Regions from separate parts of the Homo sapiens genome. Here all the other regions are linked to region 5. Evidence: promoter capture Hi-C in 16 types of primary human blood cells and fetal thymus (Javierre and others, 2016). All regions are on one chromosome and are shown on one strand. The core of a region is centred on a gene start or on the middle of the fragment in contact, and the rest is flanking DNA. Distances in the headings are between cores, read along the strand shown.

Region 1 (2,700 bases), core at 51-2,550, 460 kb after region 5:
AACATGAGGTAACAGTGAAGACAAGAGCAATTCTGCCTGCTTGCTGTAGGATCAGCCAAGCCTCCACTTTCTCCTCTGGCAGATGGAGATCATGGCAGTGCCTGCCTCATAGGTTGAGAGGATTCAATTAGGCAGGCCTGTGATGCAGATGCTGTGGGCTGTCCTGCCCCATCCCCTCAGCACTCACATTCCTGAGGGCCCGATGGCTTCCTACTTTTCTGTGGTCACAGGAGCATGCTGCTTAACACCTGTGGACCAGAAGTGCCAAGGAGGTAGCACTTCTATTAGCCAAAGACAGGAGTCAGAGCATAAAGATGCAGGTTCGGCCAGGTGCGGTGGCTCACGCCTGTAACCTCAGCACTTTGGGAGGCCAAAGCAGGCAGATTGCTTGTGTCTGGGAGTTTGAGATCAGCCTGGGCAGCATGGAGAAACCCATCTCTACTAAAAATACAAAAATTAGCCAGGCATGGTGGCGTGCAGCTGTAGCCCCAGTTACTTGGGAGGCTGACACAGGAGAATTACTTGAACCCAGGAAACGGAGGTTGCAGTGAGCCGAGATCATGCCACTGCACTCCAGCCTGGGCAACAGAGTGAGACCCTGTCTCAAAAAACAAAAAAAAAAACAAAAAAACCACACCTGGTGCAACTCAGGTGTGTTCCATGCAACCTCCCAGAACTCCCCAGCAGGATAACATACTAGTTGCCCACAATGGCAACCTGCTCATGAATGCACGTTTTGATTTCCCTCCCGTCCTCATCTCACATCCTCACTCCCCTCCTGGTGCCTCCTGGGATCACCTCCTAATTGAGTACTTGTTCTCAAATCCCTGTCTCAGTGTCTGCTGCTGGAAAGCCCAATCCAAAAGAGCGTGTAAAGTGCTTGACAGAAAGAGGACGCTTGATAAATGCTAGCCAGCTCACTAGTGTGAAAGTGTCATGAAGGCAGAAGTCATCCATCTGAATATGACTGTCTCCCCAGGTCCAGGTGCTGGCACAGAGGTGGCACCTAATACACATGTGTTGAAGAAATCAATAGACATGCTCCTCCCACCACCCTGTCCTTTCCCTCCCTCCCTTTCCCTAGTCTCACTCTCATTTCCCCCAGTCCCACATTTTCTTTCCTAGTGCTCTTTTTCTCCTCTCGTGGAGGAAGGATGCTCTGGGCCCAAATACCCCTTTGCTGTCCCAAAAGTTCCACTCTGGAAATGAGCCCCCCCGCAGCATTGTGACATCACCGTGCACTAGCCAATGGCTGCCTGCCTAAGCTGGGTCCCTGGTCTCCTGGGACTACTAGCCCTTTGTTGATAGGGAGAAGCCAACATCTCCCGCAGGACCCCCTAATCTTCAGGGCAGCTCCCAGAGCATGGATCCCTCCTGATTCCACTCAGCCCGATGTTCCTCACAGTCAAGCTGCTCCTGGGCCAGAGATGCAGTCTGAAGGTGTCAGGGCAAGAGAGTGTAGCCACGCTGAAGAGACTGGTGTCCAGGCGGCTGAAGGTGCCTGAGGAGCAGCAGCACCTGCTTTTCCGTGGCCAGCTCCTGGAGGATGACAAGCACCTCTCTGACTACTGCATTGGGCCCAATGCCTCTATCAATGTCATCATGCAGCCCTTGGAGAAGATGGCGCTAAAGGAGGCCCACCAGCCGCAGACCCAGCCCCTGTGGCACCAGCTGGGACTGGTCCTAGCTAAACACTTTGAACCACAGGATGCCAAGGCCGTGCTGCAGCTGCTAAGGCAGGAGCACGAGGAGCGCCTGCAGAAGATAAGCCTGGAGCACCTGGAGCAGCTGGCCCAGTACCTCCTGGCAGAGGAGCCTCACGTGGAGCCAGCTGGAGAGAGGGAGCTTGAGGCGAAGGCACGGCCTCAGAGCTCCTGTGACATGGAGGAGAAGGAGGAGGCAGCAGCTGATCAGTAAACGGGCCATCCTACCCATTTGCATGCTAAAATTCTCCCGGCCTCATCCTTACGTGTTCCCTGGTGACTTTTCCTACTACTTCCTGCTGATGTGGATGCGTCCACACCCCTTTTTGAACCTTCCAAGCAGCTGGAGGGTTTTTGGATCCCTGTCCCCTCTTGGGCCTGAGGTCCTCCCTCTGAAATGCAGAGTGAACCAACCCTCATCACCATGCTTCCCCTAGAAGGGTTCTGATCACCGGAGGGCAGCCCCAAAGGCCACAGTCCCCTCCTGTGCTGGCAGCTTTGCCCACACATACCCAGCAGCTCCCCAGGCTGAAAGCAGCCCTGGCCCAGGGTCTCCATGGTTCTAGGCAGACCCTCTTTCTCCTTCGGGACAGAAAGACAATGTGAGTTCATTTTCCTCCATCCTCAGACCGTGACATCTCCCCTAGGCTCCCCAGCAGCCAAGAGGAGAGGAATGTCAGGTAGCTGCCCCTTGCCTTCTGGGTGAGGCTGCCCCTGCTGTTCTCCTGCTTGTGCTTCCAGCTTAAGGGACAGGCACAGCAGAGGTGAGAGTGGGAGGAGGGCACGTACCGGGTGCCAGCCCTGGAGCCCTCAGGGAGACAGACACAGACCAAGAATAGCAGGAAACTGAGCCTCAGGCAGAAAAAAAGTTCAGCAAAGTCATACACTCCCTGTGGCCAGCGTGAACAGAGCCATGCCCCACCCTCCCAGACTGATCAGTCAGTAGGTATCACAGCTCACATTACCTGCCCAGCGCTGCCCAAGGCTCCCTGGAAGG
Region 2 (2,700 bases), core at 37-2,536, 350 kb after region 5:
CACCCTCACCCTCCATGTACCTGGTATCTGGGAACATGCCCAGAACCCTTTGAAAAAAGGCGAACAGGGGAAGGAATCATAGCAGAGGGGAGAGTAGCTTCCAAATAGAATAGGCTGCATATGCCAGCAGCAGGGAGGCTGGTGGAGGAAGGGCTGCCTCTGGAGAGTGTTAAGAGGGGTTGATGGTCTCTTGACTGTGTATTTTTTTCCATCATCAAAATAACAGCATATTGAGTTGGAAGTCATTACCTTGGTCCTGGATTAATTTCTTCAGCAAAACTAGCTTTACTGACTGTAGAAATCAGTTTCCAATTTGTTTATATTAGCTGCTTGTGCCTAGGCTGCCCGCTTAAACCTGATTGCTGCACTGCAATCTGGTGCTCCCCTAGCTGAAGGGTACATGTGAAAGAGGAGGAGAAGCTTTTGCAGCTGTAACTAATGGGTAGTTTACTGTTCCTGGCTTTAAAGTGGCTGTAACCATGTTGCCAGTATTATACAGAGAAGATTTTAATCTGTAGTCATTTACATTTCCAGAGTATTTGCTAAAGACTTAGCTTAATGGATTCTCCAAGGGAACCTTTTCAGATTTAGTCAGATCGTGAACAGAATCTCAGTTCACATACTCAAACCATCCTGCTTATTTCAGGGGTGAAGTTTATTTTATTTTGAAGAAAGGGTTTATCAGAGTTTAAACAGGAGTTCGGGAGGAAGGTTTAAACCATGTAATAAAAGTGTTACACACTTTATAAATCTATAAATAATATCAATTGCAAGCTATTTGCTATTGATTAGAGCCAGTTTTATTCTTCAAAGAATTATCTAGTTCTGGCTTATTTCATTTAAGGAAGTTTTTTTTTTGGGTTTTTTTTTTTTTTTTTTGAGACAGAGTCTCACTCTGTCACCCAGGCTGGAGTGCAGTGGCACGATCTCGGCTCACTGCAACCACCACCTCCCGGGTTCAAGCAATTCCCTGCCTCAGGCTCCCAAGTAGCTGGGACTACAGGCACCCGCCACCAAGCCCAGCTAATTTTTGTATTTTTAGTAGAGACGGGGCTTCACCGTCTTGGCCAGGCTGGTCTCCATCTCCTGACCTCGTGATCTACCCAAAGTGTTGGGATTACAGGCGTGAGCCACTGTACCTGGCCCATTTAAGGAAGTTTTTAATACAAAGTTTACCAAGTCATTATTTTCTCCTTCCTTCAGATTAGTCCTAATGAGTTAGAATTTACTATAGTGTATGTGGGTTTTTAATTTTCTTTTTATCATTATATTCTGGTATTTTAAATTTTTAATAGGATAGGAGGTTCTAGAGATATTACATTGGCTTTGTGAAGTATAGACATATGGTTGGGCTCTGAGTATTGGCACCCTAATGCCCATCACCATTTCTAGGCATCTCTTCATAATTCTTTCAGAAAGCAAGACCATTTGCCAACTTTAGGAATGTGCTACAAGGGAATATTCTGAAACAAAAACCAAAAAACCCCAGTAGCACTATGAGATTCTGTTTTCTGAAAGATTTGGGAAGAAGGGTAAAGAGTTTAATCTGTCAGGGTTATAAGAGGGGAAAAAAACTTGATGGAATGTGAGAAAGATTTATAAAATTGAACATATACTAAACGAAATTGGTTCTTAACCTTAGCCCCTCCTCCCAAATCCTGCAGAAACAATTGGGAAGAGACAGTGATTGACGTGTTGGGAGAAGTCAGAGAGTAGCCTCGGCCTTCCCCCATTTCTGGTGGGAAAGTTGCTGGCTTAGTAGGAACCATGTGATTACATGGCTTTTAGGGAAAGACAATGTATCCTTAAAAAAAAAAACATTTCATGGATTTTCCTTATAAGTTTTCAACTTTTTGTCTTCCTTTTGTATAGCAAATCCAGTTTGCTGATGACATGCAGGAGTTCACCAAATTCCCCACCAAAACTGGCCGAAGATCTTTGTCTCGCTCGATCTCACAGTCCTCCACTGACAGCTACAGTTCAGGTAGGTGTGAATGAACTCCATGTCCTCTCTAATCTCTCTTCCCTGTTTGCTACCAGTGCTCTTCACTTAGCAATCTGAAAATACCTCATGTTATGACTGCCCACCTTTGTGCTGAAAACTGTTAGTGGCTGGGCAGTGGGAATGTTCTGCAGCCAAGCTAGTAGCTGGGGAAGCTTTTGTCGACTCGAGACTTTCTTCCCCCTGGCTGTCTGTGTGTGTGGTCTGTGGCCAGTGCCCAGTTGGTAGGACTGGGCTAGTTCCCATTCCCACATTGATCCGCCCATTTCAAAAGGAAGAAATCAATGCTATTTTGGCTGACAGAATTGGACTTAAAAAAGAAGTGCATTTTGAAGCACGATTTCTTTGTGTAAAATATACCCTGTCACCTATCTCTTTCTTTCTTGTCTCCAAGACTGCTTAGATTGTAACAATAAAATTAGTATTTTGGCTTCTCTTATTTATTAGGTTATTCTTTCTGTTGGAATATCCTCCCCTGTTAGACTCTGGAGCAGGAAAGATTCAGACTACTGTAATGTAACTCCAGCTCTGTTTCTTTTTAGTTCTCTCCTCCTGTCTTAACTCTCTGTAAATAAAGTCTTTTTCTGTTTTGTATTGTGTCTTTCCCAACTATAGAGCATGTATTAGAAAATTAGCATGGAAAAGAATATAGAATCTTGGCAGATGAATACAGGAGAAAACATTAGGGACATCTAATG
Region 3 (2,700 bases), core at 115-2,614, 380 kb after region 5:
CTCAATTTTTGTTACTTCTGACAAAGATTCTCTTCTTTGGCCAAAACTCTAGTCAGGCTCCTGTGAGTCCTCTGCCTACTAGGACTAACCGTTTGGGCTTCCTTTCTGTCCTTGTTGAATCCAGTTTGTGCAGGGACTCTCCACTCTTGGCGTCTTAATCCATTTTTTGTTGCTATAACAGAATACAAAACACTGGGTAATTCATAAAGGAAAGAAAGTTATTTTTTGCAGTTCTGGAGTCTGGGGAGCCCAAAGTCGAGGGGTTGCATTTGGTGAGGGCTTTCTTAAACTGCATGGTAGAGAGCCTCTCACGGTGAGAAAGCAAGAGCATGTGTGCCAGCTCAGATCACTCTTCCTCTTCTTATAAAGCCACCAGTCCCATCACAGGGGCCCTACCCTGACGATTTTATCTAATCCTAATCACCCCCTCAAGGCTCCACCTCCAAATACCATCAACATATGAACTTTAGGATTGAGTTTCCAACGTATGGAATTTGGGGGACACAGTCAAACCATAGCACTCGGTATCTGACCACCCTCAACATCTTAGCACCCTGTCCTGCTTTCAGCAATAATCCTGTTAGGTCAGTTTAGCAAGAAACTTCTTATCCTTGATGTTTCTCTTAGTAGTTTTCCGTCCACTGACCCTCATCCTGCTCTTTGGTTATAAATCCCCACTATATCTTGTTGGAGTCAGAGTTGAGTCTAATTCCTCTTCTTCACTGCAAGATCTGGTTGTAGTGGTCCCTGTAACTATCACCATGGGCTCTCTTACATAAAGTCTGCCTTACCATCTTTAATTAGTGCCATGAACAAATTTTCCTTTAACACTTTTCAGCATTTATTTCTCTATATTTGTCTATTGTTTGTCTGACCCACCAAGCACTGTTATGTACCGTGACTGCAGACACTTGTTCCTCATTTTATCCCACTGCTTGGTGCACAGGAGACATTTATTAAATGTTTGTTGAATGAATGAATGACAAGCACTTGTCACAACGGTAACTCTGTGAAGACTAGGATCCTATCCATTTTGTTCATTACAAAATTCCGCCTAAGCCTTGAACAAGGCTATGAGTTATAAGTGCAAAGCGATTTAGAGGAAGGAGGGGTAACTAAACTGACTGAAGAAGCTAAGGGAAGCCTCACAGATAAAATTACATCTAAACTGAAACTGAAAGGAAGGTGGAAAACTAAAAAGATCAACAAGGGAAGGACTGCAGACAGAATATCGCGAGGTATTGGTCAGCCAAGATGGCTTCTAACACTGGCCGCCACACTTAATATGGCGGCCAGGGAAATTTCCTGGAGAAAATCACGCGAGAGTTGCATCACGGCGGCTGTGCGCGAGTTAAGCTGGGGGTGTGGAGCAGCCAAGATGGAGCCGGCAGTCGGCGGTCCGGGCCCACTGATCGTGAACAACAAACAGCCCCAGCCCCCGCCACCTCCGCCGCCGGCAGCCGCACAGCCACCACCCGGGGCACCGCGGGCCGCCGCGGGCCTCCTGCCTGGGGGCAAAGCCCGCGAGTTCAACCGCAACCAGCGCAAAGACTCAGAGGTCAGGAGCTTCGGGGGGCGAGGCTCGCACCGGGTCGGGCGGCGCCGGGGGTCCCGGGCCCGGGGCCACTCTAGGGGCCAGGTTGGGCTTCCCGGAGGGCTCGGTAGAGTCCGGCCGAGAACTGTCACTATACAGCGAAAGGAGCAGGAAGCGAGGCTGGCAGCTCCTGGGGTCTGGAGCATGAGTCCTTGCTCTAGCTCCGCCGCCCGGGAGAGCTTCCCGTGGCCGGCGACTGCTGGTTTGCTCCCCTGGGCCCCGACTGTGGGCGTGGCCTCGAGGCCCTAGCCCCTGGGGAAGCCGCTCTCGCCCCAGCTCGGGGGTGAGGAGTCGGGGGTCTTGGTGCACTCCAGGGCGCTGGGCTGCCGCGCCCCCAACCTAATCATCTCGGGCGTCTGTCCCTGGCACGCGGGCTCCAGCTCCTGGGTCCTGCCGCTCGCAGAGGAAGGCGCGTGTGGGCAGGGAAGGCGCCGGCGAGGATCTGGAAGGAACTTAGAGCCGGACCGAGCTAATTATCATTGAGAGTAGAGTAGGAGGGGGAAACATGTCCTGTTCTTCTGACCTGAGCCAGATCAGGCCATGGGTTAACAGTACCTGTGGTGGGCTATTGTGCCCAGTGCGCCTGATACTGAACTGTTAAAGATGAGAAATAGACATTTTAAGCATGCGTTAGGACCCAACATTCCTTCCTGTCTCGCTAGTGAGCCGTTCCTGCCGTTCTGGAGATGGCATAGTCTGGAACTGACTAGTAACCTCACCCCAAGTTAAGGAATTCCTCCCACTGCCTCCTTTTGCAGAATTCATGAATGAAGATACTCATGTCGCGGAGTTTTAGGGCTTCTTAATGAGCAGGTTCCCAGAGCACTTACTATGCCATCTCCTAGATTGATCAGCAGCCAAACTGATCAGCCAAGTTAATGAGAGGGAATTCCTAGTTGTCCAAGCATAATGTACCAATTCATACCAAAGAGCAATGATACTACCTTTAGACCTGTGGAATCAGTTCCTCAGAAGCTTTTATTTTTTGTTAGCAAGGCTAAACCCCTGAGAAAACATGTCAACAATTGGCAAGCCCGAAGTAGACGTAATTTGAGCTTGGAGTGAATTATTTGAAAAAAACAAAAACACTGACCATTTAGGAGCCC
Region 4 (2,700 bases), core at 59-2,558, 430 kb after region 5:
CCCTCAGTGGGCAGGGTGACCAGTCTCTGTGGGCCAGCTGAAAGATTTATTCTGCATTGATGACAGGGGGTACAAGCTTGGGTGTAAAAACATCGGCCTCTCGTATTTGGCTGTAAACACTCTAGGGTGTGCAGGGGAAATATAGGAGTATGGGATAGAACAGAATGTTGGTTCTGGATGGGAGCTTAAACATCATCGAGTCCAAAGGTTCTTAAAGTATAGGCCTCAGGCCAGCAGCAGAAGCAACAGCTAGGAACTTGTTAGGAAGGCAAATTATGGCCGGGTGTGGTGGCTCACACCTGTAATCTCAGCACTTTGGGGGGCCGAGGTGGGTGGATCACTTGAGGTCAGGAGTTCATAGACCAGCCTGGGCAACATGACGGAACCCCGACTCTACTAAAAGTACAAAAATGAGCTGGGCACAGTGGCAGGCACCTGTAATCCCAGCTACTCAGGAAGCTGAGGCAGGAGAATCGCTTGAACCTAGGAGGTGGAGGTTGCAGTGAGCAGAGATCTTGTCACTGCACTCCAGCCTGGGTGACAGAGCGAGGCTCCATCTCAAAAAAAAAAAAAAAAGGCAAATTGTTGGGCCCTACCCCAGAGCTACTAAATCAGAAACTCTCGGGGTGGGGCCCAACAATCCTTGTTTTCACAAGTTGCTTCTAGGTGATCTTAATGTACTCTAAAATTTGAGAACCCCTGATCTAGTTTGCCATCTTCACTTAGAAATGAGGGAACAGAGGCCTAGAGAGGGAACTTTTGCCAAGAGCACACAGCTAGTTAGGATACAGCCACTCTCCCCCTCACCCATATGGTCTCAGCTATTTATTTTGCAAATAACTTGGGGGGATTTTAATACATTTTTTCTTAGAGGCAATTGTTGTGTGGTTTATATATTTTCCATTTGTTAATAAGCTACTTAGATCAGTAGTGTCGCTGGGACCCAAACTATGGAATTATTTTCCATTAAAGTTCAGGCTCTTGGAAGTGGACTTGGTAGCTACATGGTCCCTTTCCAGTCTGGCCCCAAGCTCAGGTGGACAAGTCACACTCCCCTGGCTGCTCCCCAAGACACTGGCACCATCTTCCCCTGTCTGTCCCCAGATGCCCTCCCTGTAATGACACCACCAGCACCATAGTCTTGCTCTGTGCAGATGTTTTGGTCAATAATCCCTCCCTTAATTTACCAGGCCAAGTGAGGGTGGATGTGGCAAGAATAGTTTCGCCCACTGGCCTTTGCTGCCTTCCTGGGAAGATCTGCCTCTTCTTCCGGCTCTCACAGTGGGCCCAGCATGTTTCCAATATTGCATCAGTCTTTTCCCCAACAGAGTAACGCTTTAATGGGGCAAATTTGTTCTCTGCACGGGAAACATGTGGGCCCTTGTCAGGTGCTGCATCAGAGTGAGTTGCCCTCCACCAGCTTCCTAGATCTGGCCGTGTGAGGAGGCAGAAGGAGCCCTCTGAGACTTTGGGGTGAGTAACTCTTCTAAAAGAGCAGAACCATAATAGACTGTGTTTACATCAGCTCCGATTCCTGGGAAATTCATACAAAAGTTGTGTTGTGGTCTGAATTTTCTAGCAAACAGAGAAGGAAGCAGTTTGTCCAGTGTCACTAGACCTTACTGAAGGATTTTACATGCAGTGGGAAGGAAGAAACCCACTCCCTTCATCCTCCAAAAACCGGGATGGAGATGGTTAGCAAGGGGGTGTGGGAGGCAGCCCAGGGTAGGACAGAGTGTCCAGTCCCTCTTGTCAGTGAGAGCCTTCCTTGACCCCAAACCTTAAGAAATCAAATCCCCACTCTCCTGGGAACTTGGTTTTCTCTTCCGGAGCCCAGATTCGTTCCTGAGCCCCGAAATGCTGAAGCCAGCATTCCTCACCTCCAGGGAGCTGTGACATCCTGGGATGGTTTGTTTGATTCACCAACATCCTCTCTGCTTCCCCTGACCAATCAGGGGTCTATAACTTGCAGTTAAATAATTAAAGTCAATTAAAGTTTATTTCATTTTGAGCATTTCCCAAAGCCCTAGAGTAAATTGGAGTCTCCCTGGAGTATTGCAAAGCCGGGTTTGGAAATCTCAGATGAAGAGAATGTTGGGCAATGGATGATGGAGAAAAAGGAGAAACAAAGAGAAAGAGGTGAGGGAAAGAGCTTTCAGTTTCACTGGGTCTCCGCTTGGGGAGGATCTGGCTGGTTTAATGGTGATTCGATGCAAAAACCGTTGATTCCATTCTGATGTACTCAAGAACAGAGATGGCTGGAGACAGAGACAAGGAGAGTCAGAAAGCGACAGAAAGTAAGTCTCTCCGGGCCTCTCCACCCAGCCAATGACAGTATCACTTCAGGAAGAGACACTCCCTGTTCCCCAACTTCGGTTCCCCCTCCGCCAAAACCGTATGATATTTTAGGGAAGCCCCTCTTTATTCATTAGAAATCGGCTGCTTTGAGTTTGGCCCCTAAAAACTTGCCTCCTGCCCCGGAAGATTTATTTTATTAAATGGTCCACACCTGAAAGTAATTGAGTCTCGGCGTGGGTGCGGGGACTGCGGAGGGAGGGTCCAGGCGCGGCAGCGGCAGTGGCGGCGGCTCTCAGCTCCTCTCCAGCTTCGCACCCTGTGCCTCCGGGCGCCCTAGTCTCCCCGCCACGCCGCGACCTTTCCTCGGCCTCCCGCTCCCGCTTTGCGGAAAGGTCCGGGGCG
Region 5 (2,500 bases), core at 1-2,500:
CAGGCACCGCTTCTCTCTCCTACACTCAACCCCTCTCCCACTCCACTGCCTCTCAGTGTGCAAAAACAGTAAGAAGTGTCCCGTATTTTCAAAATCTCTCCCCTGTAGTTCCCACCTGACTTCTAGTCGTAGGTGGCCAAAGTACAGTGTTTTTGAAGGATTGTTTTATTCCCAGTGCCTGGAATATGGTAGGATCTCAACAACTGTTGTTTCAATAAAGGAATGACCAAATGGGTGAATACTAATGTAACAATATCAATTCTGTTTCTTTCATAATTATTCTCATAAGTGTTAGCTTTCTTAAAAAATCATCTTCACAATTGGACCTAGACATTTTATCTTTCCCAGCTCAAGATGGATAAACTCAGAATGACAGGCCAGGCACCGTGGCTCATGCCTGTAATCCCAGCACTTTGGGAGGCGGAGGCGGGTGGATCACTTGAGACCAGGAGTTCAAGACCAGTCTGGTCAACACGGTGAAATCCCATCTCTACAGAAAATACAAAAAAGTTAGCAGGGCGTCGTGGCGCTCGTCTGTAATCCCAGCTGCTCGGGAGGCTGAGGCAGGAGAATCGCTTGAGCCCGGGAGGCGGAGGTTGCAATGAACCGAGATCGCCCTACTGCACTCCAGCCTGGGCAACACAGCGAGTCCCCGTTCCAAAAAAAAAAAAAAAAAAAAGACTCAGAATGACACATTCTTAATGTCTTAATGTATAATGAGAAGTATAACTATTCAGAAGTCCAAGCACTTGTGTGTGCATGGTGCTATCGTCTTGCTGTAGGCAAACCTACATGGGAATCCACCTTGACACATAGGCCACTTCCTGAGCCTGGACCCAGTCTCAGAGCTGGGGAACTGGCCCAATGCAAAAGGGTCGGGAGCATCTGCAACAGAGACTGAGCTCTATCAGCTTCGGTGACATAGCCTCCATTCACGCTCCCCAACTCAGCAGAGAGAGCACACCATCAGACTTCTAAGACTTAGTAGCCAAGAAGTGTTGAATTAAACTCTCTGAGACCTCTCTTTAGTCTGACCCTGGCAGCCTCAGTCTCCCAGAGCCTGTGGGAACTCGGCAGCCGAGAGGCAGAAGGCTGGGCGACGTCCGGAGAAGAAGAAACGGGGGAAGAACTTTTCTCTTACGATCTGGCTTTACTCTCACGCGCACAGCCGAGTCCCTGGGGACCCAGCAGAGGTCCGAAGCGGAGCGGGGCGGGGCGGGGCTACGGAAGCTGGCGAGGCCGAGCCCCTCCTAGTGCTTCCGGACCTTGCTCCCTGAACACTCGGAGGTGGCGGTGGATCTTACTCCTTCCAGCCAGTGAGGATCCAGCAACCTGCTCCGTGCCTCCCGCGCCTGTTGGTTGGAAGTGACGACCTTGAAGATCGGCCGGTTGGAAGTGACGACCTTGAAGATCGGCGGGCGCAGCGGGGCCGAGGGGGCGGGTCTGGCGCTAGGTCCAGCCCCTGCGTGCCGGGAACCCCAGAGGAGGTCGCAGTTCAGCCCAGCTGAGGCCTGTCTGCAGAATCGACACCAACCAGCATCATGTCCATGACACTGGGGTACTGGGACATCCGCGGGGTGAGTGAGGGTCCGCTGCACTGTGGGACCGGGCGCGTGGGCGGGAAGTGCCGAGCGGCTGGGGACCGGCTCTAGGGACGGTTCCCTCCTTAGGGCTATCTCTCACAGGAGGGCCTGTGCATGCCTGTGTGTGTGTGTGTGTGTGTGTGTGTGTGTGTGTGTGTGCGTGCGCCGGGGTGGGGGGGGGGTGCAGTGCAGTGTAGACTAGGGGCTCACCTGGTGCAGAGAAAGTCACCAAGTCAGGGACCCTCCATCTCTGACACGACCTGCGGGCCATCTCTTCCAGCTGGCCCACGCCATCCGCCTGCTCCTGGAATACACAGACTCAAGCTACGAGGAAAAGAAGTATACGATGGGGGACGGTAATGACACCCTTGTGTCCGGGCTCTGCCCACTCACGCTGAGTTGGCACCAAGCAACCCATGGTGGCCACCTGTGGCTACCTCTGCAGGCCTCCCCTGCTGGAGCTGCAGGCTGTCCCTTCCCTGAGCCCCGGTGAGGGAGTCCTGTGGCCTTGCAAGGCAGAATGCTGGGGCGGGATGCTGGGCCCCCTGTTTAATTGGGTTGGGTGTCCCTCAGAGCTTCCCTAAACCCTGGAAGCCTTAGCCGTGTGGGGTCCAGAGCCCTCAGCGGGATTCTTTGTCCCTGAACCCTGGGATGTGGGACTGAGTGGTCAGATTCTAGATCCACCTGTCTCAGGGATCTTGCCACTGGTTCCTTGGGAGGGTCCCCGGGAAGGAGGGCTGGGCTCTGGGGAGGTTTGTTTTCACTTCTTCTTCCCCACGGCAGCTCCTGACTATGACAGAAGCCAGTGGCTGAATGAAAAATTCAAGCTGGGCCTGGACTTTCCCAATGTAGGTGCAGGGGAAGGGGCGGTTTTGGGGGAAAGTGCGACGTGTCTCTGACTGCATCTCCTCTCCCCA

What was found. Contacts are between HindIII fragments. The CHiCAGO score rates a contact against its expected background, and 5 or more counts as called.
Region 1: the fragment with the promoter of UBL4B here is called in contact with the fragment with the promoter of GSTM4 in region 5 in 5 of 17 cell types (M2 macrophages, naive B cells, M0 macrophages and 2 more); the score reaches 7.4 in M2 macrophages.
Region 2: a contact is called between a fragment that was not itself captured here and the fragment with the promoter of GSTM4 in region 5, in 2 of 17 cell types (M0 macrophages and erythroblasts). The highest score is 7.2, in M0 macrophages.
Region 3: the fragment with the promoter of STRIP1 here is called in contact with the fragment with the promoter of GSTM4 in region 5 in 7 of 17 cell types (non-activated CD4 T cells, M0 macrophages, M1 macrophages and 4 more); the score reaches 6.8 in non-activated CD4 T cells.
Region 4: a contact is called between the fragment with the promoter of LINC01397 here and the fragment with the promoter of GSTM4 in region 5, in 2 of 17 cell types (neutrophils and endothelial precursors). The highest score is 6.2, in neutrophils.

The regions. Positions count from the first base shown.
Region 1 is chr1:110,111,143-110,113,842 of GRCh38, forward strand. It overlaps UBL4B (ubiquitin like 4B), which reads left to right and starts at 1,301. Exons shown (of 1, transcript NM_203412.2): 1 at 1,301-2,700. The coding sequence starts at 1,393. The coding sequence ends at 1,917. The HindIII fragment of the contact is 8,258 bases long and covers 1-2,700 here.
Region 2 is chr1:110,007,162-110,009,861 of GRCh38, forward strand. It overlaps AHCYL1 (adenosylhomocysteinase like 1), which reads left to right. Exons shown (of 17, transcript NM_006621.7): 2 at 1,873-1,984. Among named protein-coding and RNA genes, the nearest start is that of AHCYL1, 24 kb to the left of the region's middle. The HindIII fragment of the contact is 1,737 bases long and covers 419-2,155 here.
Region 3 is chr1:110,033,260-110,035,959 of GRCh38, forward strand. It overlaps STRIP1 (striatin interacting protein 1), which reads left to right and starts at 1,365. Exons shown (of 21, transcript NM_033088.4): 1 at 1,365-1,558. The coding sequence starts at 1,379. It overlaps LOC105378895 (a long non-coding RNA gene), which reads right to left and starts at 2,180. Exons shown (of 3, transcript XR_947693.3): 1 at 2,150-2,180; 2 at 90-172. RefSeq lists an enhancer at 1,040-1,429 and silencers at 1,430-1,649, 1,890-1,959. The HindIII fragment of the contact is 6,759 bases long and covers 1-2,567 here.
Region 4 is chr1:110,081,380-110,084,079 of GRCh38, forward strand. LINC01397 (long intergenic non-protein coding RNA 1397) reads left to right here and starts at 1,309. Exons shown (of 4, transcript NR_126382.1): 1 at 1,309-1,473. The HindIII fragment of the contact is 6,914 bases long and covers 75-2,700 here.
Region 5 is chr1:109,654,849-109,657,348 of GRCh38, forward strand. It overlaps GSTM4 (glutathione S-transferase mu 4), which reads left to right and starts at 1,251. Exons shown (of 8, transcript NM_000850.5): 1 at 1,251-1,577; 2 at 1,864-1,939; 3 at 2,367-2,431. The coding sequence starts at 1,542. RefSeq lists enhancers at 969-1,018, 1,892-2,477. The HindIII fragment of the contact is 5,301 bases long and covers 1-2,500 here.